Linked DNA regions of Homo sapiens: all the other regions are linked to region 2. The links are contacts of gene promoters, found by promoter capture Hi-C in blood cells and fetal thymus (Javierre and others, 2016). All regions are on one chromosome and are shown on one strand. The core of a region is centred on a gene start or on the middle of the fragment in contact, and the rest is flanking DNA. Distances in the headings are between cores, read along the strand shown.

What was found. Contacts are between HindIII fragments. The CHiCAGO score rates a contact against its expected background, and 5 or more counts as called.
Region 1: a fragment that was not itself captured here is called in contact with the fragment with the promoter of TCTN3 in region 2 in 1 of 17 cell types (naive CD4 T cells); the score reaches 5.7 in naive CD4 T cells.
Region 3: a fragment that was not itself captured here is called in contact with the fragment with the promoter of TCTN3 in region 2 in 9 of 17 cell types (naive CD4 T cells, megakaryocytes, non-activated CD4 T cells and 6 more); the score reaches 14.5 in naive CD4 T cells.

What each region holds. Positions count from the first base shown.
Region 1 is chr10:96,344,581-96,347,456 of GRCh38, forward strand. It overlaps OPALIN (oligodendrocytic myelin paranodal and inner loop protein), which reads right to left. Exons shown (of 6, transcript NM_033207.5): 6 at 1-1,537. The coding sequence ends at 1,361. Among named protein-coding and RNA genes, the nearest start is that of OPALIN, 13 kb to the right of the region's middle. RefSeq lists an enhancer at 292-1,058. The HindIII fragment of the contact is 6,945 bases long and covers 1-2,876 here.
Region 2 is chr10:95,692,545-95,695,640 of GRCh38, forward strand. It overlaps TCTN3 (tectonic family member 3), which reads right to left and starts at 1,383. Exons shown (of 14, transcript NM_015631.6): 1 at 1,100-1,383; 2 at 809-932; 3 at 376-494. The coding sequence starts at 1,355. It also overlaps a transcript of ENTPD1 not described here. RefSeq lists enhancers at 1,088-1,367, 1,842-2,343. The HindIII fragment of the contact is 4,584 bases long and covers 114-3,096 here.
Region 3 is chr10:96,293,163-96,296,213 of GRCh38, forward strand. No RefSeq gene overlaps it. Among named protein-coding and RNA genes, the nearest start is that of DNTT, 9.7 kb to the right of the region's middle. The HindIII fragment of the contact is 1,351 bases long and covers 777-2,127 here.

The DNA of each region.
Region 1 (2,876 bases), core at 64-2,563, 650 kb after region 2:
CCAATAGGCTCAATGGGCCAACACCACTTGAAGTAGCCTCTCCTTTTCCATTTGGCCTCCTTGGAGACAGTCCTCAGCAAGCTGAAGCGGCAATGCTATGCGTGGGCTTAAGGGCTCTTGTTTAATCTGAAGCCTTTAAAAAATAAAATAAAAGAAGTTGTAACTTTAACAACTATCCCTAAAGCACAAAAGTTAAAGTTATTTGAGGAACTGCCATCAGAGGTATCATAATGTCTTACTTTAAAAATTAAGCAAAATGTTTCATTGTAAAGACAAAGTGTTGTTTTAATATGAAACATGAATTTCCATCAACATTAACATCTTTAAGGTTAAATGTAACACCACCAGTCTCTGTATTTGGAATTCGGAACTTGTAAGAAACTGCCTTTTCCTGATTCATATGAGGACACGATCACACCTAGATTGGAAGATTCACATACTACCAGCAACACCTAGAATCATCTTTAGATAACAATTTGGATCATAGGCCATGGAGAAAGTTTGTCCTAAATGTTCCCTTGTGTGGCCCTGTGACTATGGGGAACAAATGCTGGTGATTAGCTGTTTTATCAGGCAAGCAATATGGGAAGAGGTAGGAAGAAGGTGGTAGAGAGAGAGAACTAACATTTTGACTGGCAACTAAGTAGCAGACACTTCCCTTTATTTCTTATTTAATCTTTTCAATTATGACATGAGGCAAATATTTCCCCTCCTTTAAAAAAGCAAAAACTGAGGCTTGAAAATGTTAAACAACTTCTCCAAAGTCGTACAGCTGCTCAGTGGTAGGTGTGACTTAAGAGTCCGTATTCTTTCCACTGCTGTGTGACATGATTGAGCCAGGTGCTTCCCTGTGGTCAGGGAATGTGTGGCTCCACATGGTTCCTACCCTGAGATATTCAGAAACAATTAACTGCTTCCTCTCACACATCCTGCATAAGTTTCATTTGTATCCCAACTTGCACCAGGCTGACCTCAGCAACACTTCCATGAAAGTCAGATCTGATGGCTTTTTTGAGAAAAAGGATATGAAAAAAAAAGATGAGAAGGCAAGACACTCAGAAACCAAGCCCCTTTCCCAAAATGACAAAGAAAAGCAAATTCCCACTGGGAGCAGGAATAGGATCTAAGGACCCCATCTGGTGAGTCACATGTACTAACTAAAGCACAAGATCTGAGAGTTGGAATTAACCATGTTGGGGATGTCCCCTAAAGAGACAAATCAGCCCCAAAGTGTTCCAGAGCTGTAAATGAAATTTGGATTGATTAAGAAGCAGCTTGGCATCTTTCCTCTCCAAGTACAAAACCCTGGGTTTTCAACCCTGTTCCAGTGCCAGGTCTGCTGCTCCTTGACTGAGCTGCATCATTCCAGGCTCAGTCTGGGCACAAGCCACCACAATCCCCTCCTTCTTTCCATTTCTATAGTAGGACGGTAACGGTCATGCACAGGTTCCTCGCTTCCTGCTACAGTCTTCACATATATGTGGGCCTCTTGTGCTCCCATCGTATTCTTCTCATGTGTGGGTGATCTCCTAGGATTCTTAAGGAAACAAATAGGTTTTTTAAAAACTACAGCAGAGAATTCTTTCATACAAGATGGACTAACAGCAACCACATTGACCCTCCCACCTGAAATAACCAAAATCAGACACAACATTTGAAGCAATAGTTTTCAAGACACTAGACAACAGGCAAGGAGGGACAATGGTCCTGGAGAGACAGAAAACAAATGAGGAGAGACCCACAATTACCTGATCTTACTGCTTTGGGAGAGCTTTCAGGCCACTCAACTATCTTTTGTTTATTGTTAACAAAGTTTCTCATTTTTTGTCTTTTAACTGTTAATCTATTTGTGTATTTATATTTAAAGTGAGTTTTGTAGGCATCATATGATTGGACCTTGTTTTTATAGCCAATGTGAAATCTCTTCCTGTTAATTCGGGTATCTAGACCATTTACATTTAATGTGATCATTGATATGGTTGGGTTTAAATCTACCATCTTGCTATTTGTTTTCTGTTTGTTCTACCTGTTTGTTGTGTCTTTTTAACTCTTTTTCTACTTTATTTCATATAGATTTTAGAAGAACCTCATTAAGTTCCATGAAAAAAATTGATTGGGATTTATATTGAAATTACATCTGTTATATAGATCAACATTGTTTGACATCGTTATGTTATTAACACTTTCTATCCAGGAGCATAGTATGCAACCCCCATTATTTAGGTATTATTTAATGGGTTTTTTAACCAAAGTTTTATTATTTTCCATAAAGGTATTACATATTTTTGTTAGATTTATTCCATAGCATTCTACATATTTTAATACCAATTACCATCACAAATGGTAATTTTTAAAATCACTTTTTCTAATTGTTGTTGATGTTGAAAGTATAAATTACTTTTATATATTGATTTTTGTATCCAGTAAACTTGTTAAAATTTCTTGTTAATTCAAGTAATTTTTCTGTAGATTTAGCTTTTCTTTTCTTTCTTTCTTTCTTCCTTTCTTTCTTTTTTTTTTCTTTTTTTAAGATGAAGTCTCACTCTTGTCCCCCAGGCTGGAGTGTGATGGTGTGATCTCAGCTCACTGCAACCTCTGCCTCCCAGGTTCAAGTGATTCTCCTGCTTCAGCCCCCCACGAAGTAGCTGGGATTACAGGCACCTGCCACCACACCTGGCTAACTTTTGTGTTTTTAGTAGAGATGGGGTTCACCATGTTGGCCAGGCTGGTCTAGAACTCCTGACCTCAGGTGATCCACCTGCCTTGGCCTCCCAAAGTGCTGAGATTACAGGCGTGAGCCACCGCACCCAGCCAGATTTAGCTTTTCTATGTCGACAATCATACCATCTGCAAATAATGACAATTTTGTTTCTTCC
Region 2 (3,096 bases), core at 133-2,632:
AGAAGAGGCAGAAAGAGGCGTAGAGATTCAAAGGACAAAAAAAAAAAAAGTTTAAAAAAAAGAAATGGAAAAAAGGCCAGAATAAAAGCCAATTCTCAATAAATGTTAGACCAAGCTTGTCCAACCTGCAACCCACCGGCCGCATGCAGCCCAGGACGGCTTATGAATGCAGCCCAACAACACAAATTTGTAAACTTTCTTAAAACATTTGACATTTTTTTTGCTTTTTTTTTGTTGTTGTTTTTAACTCATCAGCTATCGTTAGTGTATTTTACGTGTGGCCCAAGACAATTCTTCTTCCAATGTGGGCCAGGGAAGACAAAATATAACACTCCTGTGTTAGAAAATGAGAACAACCAACATGTTTCTACTCACAGTTGTTCACATGGACACAAAACTGCCTGATTCCATTAGAATCCATGAAAACTCTTGAAGGAAACGGGGAATTACTCCTGAAGATAACAGAGTTGTCTACACAAACCCAGCTTGAAGACCTGTGAGGAAAGAGGAGGGAGAAGATATATTTAGAAGGGGCGGGGCAGGTCCAAAAAAGAGTGTCCCAGCAATATCGGCCAGATGATGCCAAAGAGGACTCCTTGGGCACCTATAGGACGACACGAAGGTCTTATTCTACTGGCCAGCCCTGCTCTAGAGAATCAGAAAAGGCAATTCCTAGGAAAAACCAAGGGAATGTCCTAGGAGTGGAAGTACGGGTGGGAGGCACAAAGACTAACTCTTCTTACATCCAAATGTTACCCGTTGTAGGCCCCAAACCCCTTTAGGATTCAGTCTGAGCAACGAAGCTCACCTTACGCTGCCTGGAAGGCAGAAGGAGAAAACTGTCCTCGGATGGAGAAGATAGCAGTCCCTGTCGCAGCAGCAATTTATATCGCAGGCTCCAGGAGTCAAGTCACAGACACAGATCGGTAAGACTATGAAAGTACGACACAGAGTGAGTGGGATGAAGATCCCCAAACTCTCCCAGGTGCTCACCCTCCTTCTTCCGACAGCCCCACTCCTGCTTTGTGGCAGCTCAACTTTGCTCACAGAATTTTAGATCTCAGAAGTAAGTTTCCACCCCCACAACGTTTTCCCTCACCTGGGAAGAGGTCCACAGTCCTATTCCCAGGGGCCGAGGGAGTCACGAGAGTAGGGACCACTGTAGGGAGTCCAGGCACGGCCGGGCGAGTTGCAGTCGCCTCTGAAGGGGACTGGAGGGTTCCGCCATCCGTCCCTCGCTGCAGCTCCAAAGACGTGGGCACTGCCCCTGATGGGGAGGAAGAGGGCTGAGGCCGGACGCCATCGGGGAACACCAGAAAGAACACTTGCAGGAGCGCGAGCTGTGGGGTGCGCATGGGGCATTCAGGGCCTCCGGGTCCGACGTAGGCCTCCGCGGTCTCCAATCGCATTGCCAGAGCGTGGGTGGGAGGAGTCGCATAGCGTCTGACGCCATCCGCGTGCCTCTTCTCATTGGCTCATGAGAAGGCTGAGAGCTCTTCAACCAATCGAAAGTGGGGTTGTTACAGCTCTTTCAGTGTCCTTCGGTCTGCGCCCTCCTCCTTAACGCGGGCCGGGCCGTGCCTCCGTTGCCTGGCAACCGTCAGTGACGAAGAAGCCCTTGCGCCTTCCTTCCGCTAGGTGGCGGTAGGAGTTCGGCGGACCGAGAGGTTCCGCGCCCACTTCGCGGCCCAGAGGACTGAGCCCGGCCTCCGGTGCAAGGAAACCCCAGAGGCCGGAACTAGAATTGCAAATTTTTTTTCACCCCGGATTCCAACGGTGAGAAACCCTTTCTATGGAAGAATAATGTTCTCAGGTGGGGGAAACACACCTAAGGTCACATACCTTAAAAAACAGTCTCCTCTAAATATGGCTTTTTTAAAAAAAAAAAAAACACATTAGAAATAATGTTCATTCAGCTCCTTACATTTTAACATTGAGAAATTTTGAAAACCCTAAAGAAATGCATCAAATCATTAAAGATGGACTGCATGTTTGTTGTTAGAAAAAGCAGTGAGAGAAAAATAAGAAAAAAGGGCAGGAAAAATGTGAGAAAATAGGGAGAGAAAGAATAAAAAAAAGAAACATTGTCTAGGAGGTGAGAAAATAAGATGGAGGAATGGAAATAGAAGATTTTTTTCCCCGTGTTAATGGCAAATTTTTTAAGCCTCTCTAGGAGGTTTTTGTTCTTCCCGGGAATGGCGTGCCTCTTCCGATTCCCCACAGCAGCGCGGGCCATGGGACTTTCCTTCGGTATTGGAAATGTACCGTAGCTGCACTGTCCAGCATGGTAGTCACCGGCCTTATGTGGCAATTGTGCGCTTGAAATGTGGCTAGCGTGACTGAGGAGCTGATTTTTTTTTTTTTTTTTTTTTTTGAGACGGTGTTTCGCTCTGTCGCTCAGGCTGGAGTGCAGTGGTGTGATCTCAGCTCACTGCAACCTCTGCCTCTAGGATTCAGGTGATTCTTCTGTTTCAGCCTCCTGAGTAGCTGGGATGACAGGCACGCGCCACCACGCCCGGCTAATTTTATTTTTATTTTTAGTAGAGATGGGGTTTCACCATGTTGTCCAGGCTGGTCTCGAATTCCTGACCTCAAGTGACCCTCCCGCCTTGGCCTCCTAAAGTGCTGGGATTACAGCTGTGAGTCGCTGTGCCTGGCCTGAATTTTTAATTTTTAAATTGTAATTAATTCAAAGTTAACCACAGACGTGAGTAGCTACCATATTGTACAGTGGGACTGTAGATGATCAAAATATTGCTCCTCCTAGACCCAGTATTTTCCTATGTCCACGGTTCTGACATCTGGATTATTTTGGATATTTAGTTTTAGTATATAAATTAACATCTGTTAAGAGTTATCTAAAATCTAGTACACTTACCTAAAATCTGGTCAACACCTCCCTTTACAAGTGAATCATTTAACTCAGGTAAGTTTTAGGACATTTGACTTTACTTGAATTCTCTTACAAGATCTTTATTTTCTAATGTTTTGAAGTCAGTAGCTAAAAGTCTCTCTGTGTTATAAATATTTTCAAATATGTTTTTATGTTGTTGTGTGATAGACAGCTATGGGAGATATGTGTTTGGTCTTAAAACA
Region 3 (3,051 bases), core at 202-2,701, 600 kb after region 2:
TCCGAAAAGCTCTGTAGGTGGAGGGACTTGTGTTACAAGATGCTGGTCCTCAAGATTTGTTGGTCAAATGAATGAATGGTGTAATTCTGATGTTTGCCTTTGCAGATAAAGAGAATGCTGCCTTTTTTCTGCACAAAGAAAAACAATTACAAAGCAGAAAACAAAGCAGTGAAGGCTAAAAGGAATATTAAAATTTTCTGAAATAAAGTTAGTTATTCACAGTAAAATACTCCAGACTTTCTCCAACAGGGCCTTTGCTTTATAACCCAGAGGACTTTTAGGATAGAAAATACTGACACCAAATGGTGACAAGTAGAACTCCCATGTCTGGGACAATAGAAACATCTGAAATGAACTCTGCTCTGTCTGGCCGGCTCACTGAATGACTGCACTAGTTCCCAGAAAAATTGTCTTGTCAACAGCGCTCAACAAGTTTCATTTTGCCGCATTTCCCACACTTGTATGTCAGGATTTGCTCCCAAGAAGCCGGTATTCCTTCTCTGCCACCAGAATCCCAGAACACGCCAGGTGCAGCCCACTGTTGGCTGCACTCTTAAGTCCTAGTTTTCTCTGCCTTGGTCTACAGTGCGTGAATGTGCATATCCACATATGCACATGCAAATGGATGTATGCATGTGTATATTCATAAACTCATGTTTCAGGGTCCAAAATCCCTCACCTTTCCTTATGTATACAGAGAAAATGTGAGCTTTGTTATTTTGTCTATAGAAGAGCTGATTTACTTTCTTCTTGCTGGGATGTGGGAAAAGAACTAAAGCTTAGTTCCATCTTGCCATTTCAGTCCAATCCAATAGTTTTAACTGTCCCATCAGATAATTCAGTTTTCTCTGCTTTGATAACTTCAGGAAATGTAATATCTTTCAAAGTTCTGTCCCTTCCCTTCAAGGTGGTATCCGGGTACATGGGAGACGCATGTGGCTATTTGTCTTTGTGGCATTGTAGAACACTGTCTCATGGGTTGGCTGGTGAAGTGGAGCTGGTACTCAACAGGGAGGAAATACCTTCCAATGCCCTGCTTTCTGCCATCTGGCAAGGGCTTGGTGGTGCAAGTTTGAGTTGTCCAGACTATAAAGGAAAATGCCTCACCAATTAAAAGTAGTTGTTTAATTTAACAAACCCAAATATCAATAGAGAGTAGGGAAGGAGTCTATGCCTCTCTATCTTTTTAGCTTTACATGAAGGAGGACAACTGGAGTTATCCATCTCAGCCGTGCTCAACAAATATTCTAAACCAGTGGTTTTTCAAGGTCGGTGGCACAGGAGGATAACTATGGAGTTTGTAAAAAACATGAATACTCACCCCCACCCCCACCCTTTGGGATTCAGATTCTATTAGTGTGCAATGGAGCCTGTTCACTGATATTTTAAAAACTCAGGTAGTTTATTGTGTAGCCAGGGTTGTGAACCAAAGTTCTACACAGAGAACAAATATTTATGTAACAATGTATTCATGTAACAGGCAAACTGGGTTTTTGTTTGTTTGTTTTTGCTTTGTATCCATTGCTCTGGGCTGAATGTTTGTTTCATCCACAAATTCACATGTTTTTGCCTTAATCCCCCATTTGAGATTAGGTGTATTTGGAGTTATACCTTTGGGAGTAATTAGGACATGAGTGTGGAGCCCTCCTGAACGGGATTAGTGCCCTTAAAGGAGGAAACACGAGAGAGATGATCTCGTTCCCCACCATGTGAGGATACAGCAAGAAGGTGGCCATCTGCAAACCAGAGCTAGTGCCCTCACCAGGAAACTTTTCAGCTGGCACCTTGATGTTGGATTTCCCAGACTCTAGAATGGAGAGAAATAAACTTCTCTGGTAATTTTGTTACAGCATCCTGAAGTGACTAAGACACCCTGGTGATCTGGGAGACTCCAATGTGTGGAATTTACCTAGTTTTCCTCTAAGAGCTGCCAGCCTCCTCTTGGATTTTCCTGGCACTCTTCCCCTTCTCTCCCTGTGCCCTCCTCCTAAGTTATCTAAGGCAAACCTCTTCCTCCAGTAGAAGTTCTTTCTGTTGGACACTCTTCTGCCCTTTCTAATAGAGCTGAGATTTACTAGTAGTACATAGGTTTACTTCCGCTGAGAATAAGTAATCTGCTCTCTCAGAAGCTTTGGAAAGGAGCTAGGCCCTTTTTCACCAAGTTAAAACATTTCAGTTAAATATAATCACACCATTTAGCACCTAATTATAAACTATTACCTCCACAATTTAAAAATATTGAATATGAGATTTTGTTATTTTTAAAAAGTAAACAATTACTCACAGAGCTTTATAAAAAAAGATTACTATGTTGAAAGTGAGTCCCTACTTCCCCCTACCCCCATCAAATTATTCTCTCTGAGAAACACACGTTTAAAATAAATCTCAAATTCGTTGCATTGAGAGCTGAGTTTGGTACCAAATTCACGATGTGACATTGTTTCTGCTGGGCCGTTGAACCCCTTTTTCCTCCCAGGTGGTGATGAAAGACTTTCACTTCCTGGCAAAGAATAAGAGAGGGTTTTGGCTGCATCCCCAGCAAAACCAGCTTTAGATAAATGGTTTGGCACAAACACTTGTGGGCCTGAGCTCTCCCCTTCTATGCATTAGGGGTGTGTCACTGACAGAATTCTCACTGGTCTCTCTGGATGGAAGAGGAATGGTGTTCACAGCCTATACTTTGGGCTGTCATCTATGTACAAAGACATGTGCTAAGCCCTCTAAGACATACAAAGAAGGTTACACTCTAAATGGGAAGACGAGCCATACTTGTCTACATAAAGGAAGGTGGTCAGGGGCAGAAGGTAATTGAAACAGGGTAAGTATCAACAATGTGTTATTAAGGTGAGTTCCCAGGAAGCCAGCCCTGAGATGGGAATTTGTGTGCAGAAGTCTATTGGGGATGCCCTTGGGATCATCATCTATGGGAGCATGAAGGAGGAGATTGGGCAGAGAAAGAGTTGAACCACTATTTGATTGTAGTACAGATCTCAGCCAATCTAATAGGATGCTCTAGAGTTAGGCTGGCCCTTCAGAGTTGTCACCCCTTGA